Regions from separate parts of the Homo sapiens genome. Here all the other regions are linked to region 2. The links are contacts of gene promoters, found by promoter capture Hi-C in blood cells and fetal thymus (Javierre and others, 2016). All regions are on one chromosome and are shown on one strand. The core of a region is centred on a gene start or on the middle of the fragment in contact, and the rest is flanking DNA. Distances in the headings are between cores, read along the strand shown.

What was found. The method cuts DNA at HindIII sites, captures the fragments that hold promoters and counts their contacts. A CHiCAGO score of 5 or more calls a contact.
Region 1: a contact is called between a fragment that was not itself captured here and the fragment with the promoter of EDIL3 in region 2, in 1 of 17 cell types (megakaryocytes). The highest score is 5.8, in megakaryocytes.
Region 3: a fragment that was not itself captured here is called in contact with the fragment with the promoter of EDIL3 in region 2 in 2 of 17 cell types (monocytes and M2 macrophages); the score reaches 6.5 in monocytes.

The regions. Positions count from the first base shown.
Region 1 is chr5:85,048,166-85,051,183 of GRCh38, forward strand. No RefSeq gene overlaps it. Among named protein-coding and RNA genes, the nearest start is that of EDIL3, 660 kb to the left of the region's middle. The HindIII fragment of the contact is 636 bases long and covers 1,096-1,731 here.
Region 2 is chr5:84,383,503-84,386,534 of GRCh38, forward strand. EDIL3 (EGF like repeats and discoidin domains 3) reads right to left here and starts at 1,378. Exons shown (of 11, transcript NM_005711.5): 1 at 806-1,378. The coding sequence starts at 872. The region is part of intron 1 of EDIL3-DT (EDIL3 divergent transcript); the gene reads left to right. The HindIII fragment of the contact is 6,424 bases long and covers 1-3,032 here.
Region 3 is chr5:85,009,098-85,012,442 of GRCh38, forward strand. No RefSeq gene overlaps it. Among named protein-coding and RNA genes, the nearest start is that of EDIL3, 630 kb to the left of the region's middle. The HindIII fragment of the contact is 1,083 bases long and covers 1,089-2,171 here.

The DNA.
Region 1 (3,018 bases), core at 164-2,663, 660 kb after region 2:
TGAGACTTGCAACCAAGGTCAGATTGGTGACCAGCAATCTGTCTTCACATGCTATTGCTCGGTGACCTGGCCTGCTCACCTAAGATTGTGGTGCAGTGGGACCCCTTAGGCAGAAATCCAAGCATTTGGAACATCCACTTTCCTGGACTGGTGGCCAAAACCACCCCACTCTTACTGGAAATAGATCATTGTGCAGCAGGGCTCTCTCTGTTCCACAAGTAGGCAGATCTCCAGGCATTTGGAACACTCACTCACTTGGATCAGTGGAATGACCCATGCCACCCTTCCTGTGTAGAGATCTTAGTGCAGGGAGGCCCTCTCTGCTTCACACTCGGGCAGATCTCCAGACAATTGTAGCACCTGCTGTGCTAGATCTACACTTTGAGTCACCTATCTTTCCAGGACATAGATCACGGTGCAGCAAGGCCTTCTCTACTCCACTCCCAGGCATATCCCCAGGCATTCAGAGGACCAGGTCAGCCAGCAGACTGAGCCACGCAACTCTTCCTGTTCAGAGATCCTGGTGTGAGGTTGAGGCTGGGGAGGCGGCTCTCTGCTGTACTCCCAGGCAGATCTCCAGGCATTCAGAGTATCTGCTTGCCTAGTTCAGCAGCCTGAGTTGCCCTCCTCTTCCTATGTGGTCATCTTGTGGCAGATCTCCACTCTATGCCCAGGCAGATCTCCAGGCACTCAGAGCACCTGCTTGCCTGGAACAGAAGCCTGAGCAATCCTACCCTTCCTGTGTAGAGATCCTGGTGAAGGAGAGTTCTGTCTGCTTAATACCCAAGCAAATCTCCAGGCATCTAGAGCCCCCACCCTCTTGGATTAGGAGTTTAGGCCACCCTTCATCCCCATGCAGGGAATTTGAGGCTAAAGTGGTTTCCCAGCTCCATGCTACACACATCTCTTGATCTCTTGGTGCCTTGTGGCCACCCACTATATTCTCCCATGGTGGTGCTTGTGTCTGCCATGTGCAGACCTGTACACAGACCTATTCAATCAGGCCCACCCATTTGGTCTGCCTCCTCAGGGCTGAACAGGGTGCTTAGACCACCATGCACTTTATGAATCAGCCCATTGCCTGAGGCAACAGAAAGCTTCTCCCAGTAAACAAGGATCAAGTACGTACCCAGCTGCATTGGCTACATCTAGCTCTTGCCTATAAGCACCACCTACTGGTTTATATGTTAAACTTCACAGCCCAGTATAAAACCTGCTGACAAAAGTTCATAGGGCTATAGAAGCAAAGTGTAATAAAAAGATTCTATGCAACATTCTCTACAGTCACACCTCCTGGAGGTGGGGGGGACACAAGGGGAAATAAAATAATAATAATAATAATATAGAGAAAGGAAACAAGAAAAAAATCTACCTGCATGAAAATAATTACACACACACAAAATAGAAGTGCCAGTATCTCCAGGTGAGAAGGAACCAGCAGAAGAATTCTGGCTCCATGAAAAATATTAATGTAGTGACCCCATCAAAGGATTGCACTACCTTTCCAGCAATGATCCCTAACCAAAATGAAAACAAAAAAAATTATAGAGAAAGAATTGAAAGCATGGATTTCAAGGAAGCTCAATGAGATCTGGGACAAGGTTGACAGTCATGAAAAAATAACGTCTAAAGCAATCCAGGAAATTATGGAAAAGATAAAAATTTTTTAAAAGATCAATCAGAGCTTCTAAATTGAAAGAATGACATAAGGAATTTCAAAATGCAATCAAAAGCTTAATCAATAAAATGGACCAAGTAGAAGAAAGAATTTCAGAGATTGAAGACTGTCTTTCAGACTAACTCAGTCAGACAAAAATAAAGAAAAAAGAATTTACAAATTGAACAAACTCTTTGATAGATATGGGATTATGAAAAGTTACCACATCTGTGAGTAATTGTCATCTCTAACAGAGAAGGGGAAAAATGCAACAACCTGGAAAACATATTTGAGGGAGTAATTAAAGAAAATTTCTCTAATCCTGCTGTAGAGTTAGGCATCCAGATACAAGAAATCCGGAGAACACCTCCAAGACTTTATACAAAGCAAACATCATAAAGGTATATAGTCATCAAACTGCCCAAGGTCAATGTTAGAAAAATTAAAAATCTTAAATGTGGCTTGAGAAAAAAGTCAGATCATGTATGAAATTAACTGTATCAGGCTAACAGCAAATTTCTCAGCAAAAGACTTTTGCTGAGAGATTGGGCATTTTCAAAGAAAAGACATTTTCTTTATCAGCATTCTTAAAGAAAAGAAACTCCAGCCAATAATTTCATATCACAACAAACTAAGCTTCATAAGAAAAGAAGAATTAAAATCTTTTCCAGACAAGCAAGCACTAAGGGAATTCACTACCACTAGGCCAGCCTTACAGGAGATCCTTAAGGGAGTTCTAAACATGGAGATGAAAATACAATGCCTGCTACCACAAAACCACAGTTACATAGCCCACAGACTCTATAAAGCAACCATACAATAGAAACTACAGGGTAACCAACTAACAACTTCATGAGAGAATCACAACCTTACATATTAATATTAACCTTGAATGTAAATGGTCTATACACCCCATGTAAAAGGCACAGAGTGGCAAGTAAGAATTAACACAGAAACAGAAAAGCATATACCACATGTTCTCACTTACAAGTAGAAGCTAAACATTAGGTACTCATGGACATAAAGGTGGCAACAATAGAAACTGGGTACTAGTAGAGATGGGAAGAGGGAGGTGGGCAATGTTTGAAAAACTTGGGCGACAGCCTCATTTGTGCCCCAAACTTCAGCATTATGCAATACTCCCAGATAACAAACTTGCACATGTATCTCCTGAATCTAAAATAAAAGTTAAAATAAAGGATGTTTTGCAGTTAAATATATATATATATATATATATATATCATATATAGAGAGCTCTATTCATCTGATACTAAATGTATTGTATTAACATTTTTCTCCATCCTTTTAGTTTTATACTATCTATGCTTTCATACTTAAAGTGGCTTTCTTATAAATATTAC
Region 2 (3,032 bases), core at 128-2,627:
CAATTCACAGAAGGCATCACCCTACAAGCTCTCACAACTTTTCCGCTCCTGTGCGGGGACGCGAGGGGTGGCTTGCCCCGCACTATTCCCCATTACCAAGAGTTAACACTGGTACTCGGAGGGGGTGCGCAGCTAAGCTCCAGGCCCCTGGGGTCAGACTAGGAGAGGCGGGTTCCTGGGGTTTGCTGTAATCGATGCTGCTCCTCTGGGATGGGGAGGCAGGAGAAAGCTGAAGTGACCTGTGAGACTCCTCTCCACCTCACCCGCGGCCAAAACGCCCAGCGCCGGGTCTGGGTTTGCGAACGGCTCAGCCCAGGCCCTGCGCCAGAGCACCGCACCCGGGGGCGGACGGCCCTGCAGCTCCCCAGCCTCTTCCCGCATCAACTAGCTGACGCCCGGGCGCACTGGCTTCCCCCGCTCCCGCCCGCACGAAAGCCCTGCCCGACGTCTGCAGTCAGCATCGCCCGCACTGCCTAGGGAGGGTTTGCGCCGAGACCCAGTGGCCGAGTGAGCCACAGAGTCGCTGGTCCTGGGGACGCTGTCTTCTACCGCTCCCCACCGTCCTCCTCTTTCCTGTATCTCACCCCGGTACCCCGCACCCTTCTCCCCGCTCGGCCCCGCGCACTCTGCTCAGACTTTACAAGCACTTTCTCGGGGCACCCAGGACTCGACGCCTCCTCCGCGCCGCCAGCGGCGCTCGCCACCCTTGGCACGCCGGAGGGACCGCCTCCGGCCCCCTGCGCGGCGTTTCTCAGGGGACTCCCAGCCCATCCCTCACCCAGCTGTCCGGGTCCCGACGCCTTACCTTTGCCGAACTGGGGGACACCGAGGCTGAGCCCGACCAAGAGCCAGACGGCTACCGAGCGCTTCATGATCCCGTCTCCCGGACGTGACCCCGGCTGGTCAGGGGTCGTCGCGGAGGGCAGTGTAGCCGAGGTGGCAGCGCAGGGCAGCAGCAGACTCCGCCCCTACTAAAGAATTCAAGAAGACGTTCTCTTTCCTCAGCGCTTTGTTAAACAAATTCTTGGAGAGGGCGAGAGTGGTGACTAAAGAGAGGAGCCTTTCCTCCCCTTTTGCCTGCGCTCCGGCGCGCGGAGGTGGGTGAGCTCCGGGGAGCCGCCGGCGGGCTCAGCCCTCCGCTGCGGGTGGGTCCCGGCAGAGGCGCGGCGGGCGGGGCGCGGGCTCCCGCGGCCGCCCCGGGTCTGCTGCGCGGGCAGGCAGACCCACCGGCAGACAGGCGGACCGGGCGCTCGGCTGTCGCTGTTCTCCGCGCGGCGGCTGCGGGGCTTCTGACTTGGAGAACAATGAAGCGTGAGCTGGAGGGGAGCGAGCGGGCCGCCGGGAGCGCACTGTGTACAAACAGAGGCGGCGTGCGTGTGAGTCTGAGCCTGGCAGGCGCGCTCCCCACTCCCCCGGCGCCCGCCCGCCCTCCGCCCGCCCTGTTATTCACTCCCCGGGTCTCCCCCTCCTCTCTCTCTCTTTTGCTCTCTCTCTCTGTCTCTCTTTTGCTCTCTCTCTCCTTCCTCCCTCCTCCCCTCCTCTTTCAGCTCCTTCTGCTATAAGAGAAAAGGGAGACAACTGCAGCCACACCCTAGCACCTAGCACCTGCCACCACCTCTGAAGTTCCTGCATTGCCTGTACCTTCTCCGCACATGCTGGAGACTGTGGGGTTAAGAGCTGCACCCTTGCTGCCTGAGAGTCCCTTGGATTCCAGCACTGACTTTATAATTAACCACGTTAAGGATTCCCCTGAACTTCCTTTCTCAGTATAACCAGGAACAGAAGTTAAGAGATTTTGAAAAGTGACTCTTGGGGCACAAAACTGCATGAGAGACAGAACCCTGCAAAGTGAATTGCCCCGTATTTCTCAGGAACTGCAACGTAGTCAGCAACCAGACCCTAATCAGCTAAGACAGGGCTGCTCTGCTGCTCTGTCTACAATTTAGTTAGCTCCAGGGCTGGGGAGAGAGGGTTGTGGGCTCATCTGTTCACGGGGGCAAAAGGGTGGAAGTGAGTAGGAGACATGCATCTCGTTAAGCAGGACATCTGTTTCAGAGAAGAAGTGGGGCAAGTTTGGGAACTGTGCAAGAACATAAAGGCAAAGACAGACCCTTGAAGCATCACTAAGGTGGATCAAATTTTCTTTCTATCCGCCAAAATAAATGGACTGGTTTTTGCAGTGGAAGTGATTGAACCAAAAATACAGCTCATGGCTTACAATTGTGCTTTCTTCTCTGTTTTTCGGTTAGAATGATTGCTTATTGTACATGGATCCAATTCCAGCAGTTACAGGTACCAAAATGAAACAGGGCTTCTTTTTTCTTTTTTTTCTTTTTTTTTTCTTTTCCTTTTTTCTTTTCTTTTTTTTTTTTTTTTGTCTTCTAGAGAGGGAGGTAGGGAGAGAGACAAACACAGAGCTAGAGAAATTGAAAGAGAAACATTCTCGAAGGCAAAGAGTTGAAAGGTGAATCTACTAAGAAAAGAATAACAGAGTGCAATTAGCCATGGAACTACATCTCCATCTGCCTCCTTTAAAGGATGAGTCCTTTAAAGGTGAGATGAGTCCTTTAAACTTAAATTTCTACCTTCCTTTTCAAATTTTAAGTGAAATGAAGAATGCGAGGTGAATGGAACCGTAATGCTGAATACTGCTAGGGAGGGTTTAAGGTATTGTATAACTGACAAGCAAACAACGGAAAAAAGAAAGAAAGAAAGAAAAAAAAGAACACCTTTCAGAAAGGGTTTGTTCATATCTCACGATTGGTGGGAGGGTTAAAACACATTTTTTAAAAAATCACCTTGCTAAGAGAATGAGAGAGATTCATTTATTTACTGTCTATTTATATGCCTAAAGTCACAGATGTTAGAATAAGACAGTATTGTCCAGAGTTGTAGCAAAGATGTTTCAAGCAATCAAATTCTAATTTTCTGGTGCATCATCATTACTTCCTTGTGAAACTATGTTTTCAGTCACCCTGTGGCATGTTCATCCTAAAATACACTTTAACTTTTGAAATGAGATGTCTAATATT
Region 3 (3,345 bases), core at 380-2,879, 630 kb after region 2:
CAGACAGGATAGAGATTTAGAAAATACAAATGCATAAATATGTAATTGGTAAAATTAAAAAACAAGTAAGTGATACAACCTGTAAACACTAAATATAAAAAAAGCTTATTTGCCTTTACTAATACTAGACAAAATACACTTTAAGAAAAATAATATTACCAGAGATAAAAACATACATTCCATAAGGATAAAAGCACTTTTTATCAGAAAGATATAATAATCTTAAATGTATATGAAAGTAAAGACAGGTATTCAAAATACAGAAGTAAGCAGACAGAAATTAATTTGGAGATTTCAATAACACTCTTCCAGTGATTTCTAAAAGAAATAGATGAAAAATCACTGCAGTTTAAAAACATTGAACAAAATAAACCTACCTAACCTTACTGACATAGATCAAAACATCATAAAACAACAGAATAGTTATTCTTTATAACTACATATAGAAAATCCACTGGCAGATCATTTGTTGAGCCATTTAAGAAGTTTCCATATATTGCAATATATTCTGATTTTCAAACATATGTATTTTAATTCTAATTATATTGTTTGATGTCAATAGCAAAAATTCATCTTTACATTCCCCAAATATTTGAACTTTAAGTAACCTGCCACTAAAGAACTCATGTGTTAAGAAACTAAAAAGGAAAGTACAAAATTTTGAATTGAATGAAGTTTAAACACAACATGTCAAACTTTGTAAGTTACACAAAAGTAGTGGCTGGAGAAAATTTTTGTATTAGATTATAAGAATGGTTTGAAATCAATCATGCATGTTCCACCCTAAAAAGCCAATAAAATTTGGCAAAATCTTTAATGCAAAACAGCAAAAAAATTACTGTGTTTTAGCACACAGCTAAAACAAAGTACTTAGAGGATATAAATAATAAAATAGTAAGTGTGGCCATCAAGAAAATAGCAAATGAACAAATAGAAGATATAAAAGAAAAAATGTTATTTAAAAAGATGTAAGCAATTTTATAAGCCATTAATATGAATTAGACAAAAAGAGGGAAAAATTACCAGTACAGGCAATGAAAGAGAAAAGGACGTCACTTCAGAAAAGGACGTCACTTCAGATTGTTACAAGCTTAACAAAGGATTATATCAGAGATTTATGTCAAAGATTTGACATCTTGGATAAAATGGAAAATTTCCTTGAAAGACATTATTACCAGATTGACACAAGAAATAGATCAGGTGAAGTCTTTACCTTATAAAACAATCTTGAGAAAGAATGATATTGGGAAAATTATGCTATCTGATTTCGGGACTTACTCTAAAGCTATGGGAATCAAGACAGTCTTGTAATAGCATAAGCACAGATAAATGGTTCCCTGAAAGATATAAGAAATAGACTCATACTGTCATTCAATTTTTAACAGATACATGGAAGAAATTTAACGGTTCAAGAACATTTTTTCAGTAAACACTGGTAGAACAGCTTCATATCCATGTGGAAAAAGTAAATTTGTTGCTACCTTGAAATATACTGTAAAAATTAATTTGAGATGAATCATATACCTAAATATTAAACTAAAGTTATAAAGTTTATAGAATACAACATTATGACTGTATCTTCATAACATAGTTGTGAATATTTCTTAAAAAGACCACAGAAGGCAAACTTAAAAAAAATTCTAAATTGTATTTCAACAAAAATAGTAAAAATTTATCTCATCAAAAGTACAGTTTAGAAGTGAATAGGTAAATTATAGAAATAATATAATATATTTATGTAATGAAAAACCTATCTACATAATATATGTAGAACCCCTACAACTTAATAAGACAAATAAAAACAACAAAAATACTTAAAAAAGTTTAAGAAGTACTTTACAAAATATGATATAGAAATGAACAAATGTTAAATAAGCATCTGAAAAATGATCCATGTCAATAGTCATCGGGGTCATGCCAATTAAAACTACAATGAAATATTACAGGCTTGCCAGAATGGATAGTTCTAAAAAGACTAACATCACCAGATGTTAGCATCTATACGGTACAACCAATGGGAGTGTAAAATAGTATAAAATCTTTGATAACTGGCTTTGAATTTTTTAATAAAGTTATACATAAACCTACCCTATGACCCAGGAATTCCATTTCAATTAACTCAGGATAATACAACATACATCAACAAATAGATTATGTGGATGTTCATATGAAGCTTAATATTCATAATAGGCAAAGCTTGAAACATATCAATTATCTTTTGAAAAGAAAGAAATTTAGAAAAATAAGTATTATGCAATGTCAGTAAAAAGGAATAAACAACAAATGTACCCAAAAACATGTTTAAACTTCAAAAAAATATTTTACAAGAAACCAGATTCAAGTGCATGTATTTATGATTCTATGAATACATTTATGTGAATGAATTTCTCGAATAACATGAAAACTAGTCACCTGTGTTAGTGGCCTCTACTTGAGGGTGACCAGGTTTGACTGGGAAGGAGCCGGAAGAACTTTCTGGAAAGATAAAAATTTTCTATCTCTTCATAAGGTTGTAGATAACATCCGTGTACACATATATTTATTTGTCAAAACATTTCAAACTGTACACATATCTGTGCATTTTTAATCTTTGTAAATTATATAAAACTTCTTATGGGAAGATTTAGCTATCCTCCTAGTATATTTTGTGAGTACATGCTTTCTTTCTTCTTTTTCCGTAAGAAAGAAATAAAAATCTATTTATTTGTATTTTTTAGGGACAGAGGACTTTAGGGACAGGAATATTATATTAACAGCTAACATAGTAGACAGATGATGCACCTTTATCGAAATAATAATTTGATTTAATTAGAAATTTCAGAAAGCATTACTTCATACCAAAATACGAAAGCATTACTTTCCATTGTTGATTCCAACAATGGAAATCTCAGGCAGCATGCAAAGGATGTAAGTGGATGGGAAGAAAATGGTGGTTTGCTGAAGTCAGCTAGAACTGGCTTGGGAGAAGCTGTTATCCACATTCTATCCCAACTACTCATTTTGTGACTTCACTTTGGAAGCTTTAAATTGCCGGAGTGGGAGTATTCACATAATGGAAAATGGAAAATATTACCAATCAGAGCTGCTGCTCACTCACCCAATGACCCTCTTTGGAGAGTCTGCTTACCAGAACACTACTGAAAGTGAAATTGTCTTGCTCTATCTTATGTCACAACAGTTATACAGTAATTTATCAGATTTCACACATTCAGGAGAATAACTAGAGTAGTTAATGTCTTTGGAAAATACAAATATCATGTAGATAATGTCTAAAGATAGTATCATATAAGTTTACACAGGATAATAAGAATACCAAAATTTACAAAAAAAAAAAAAAAATTACCC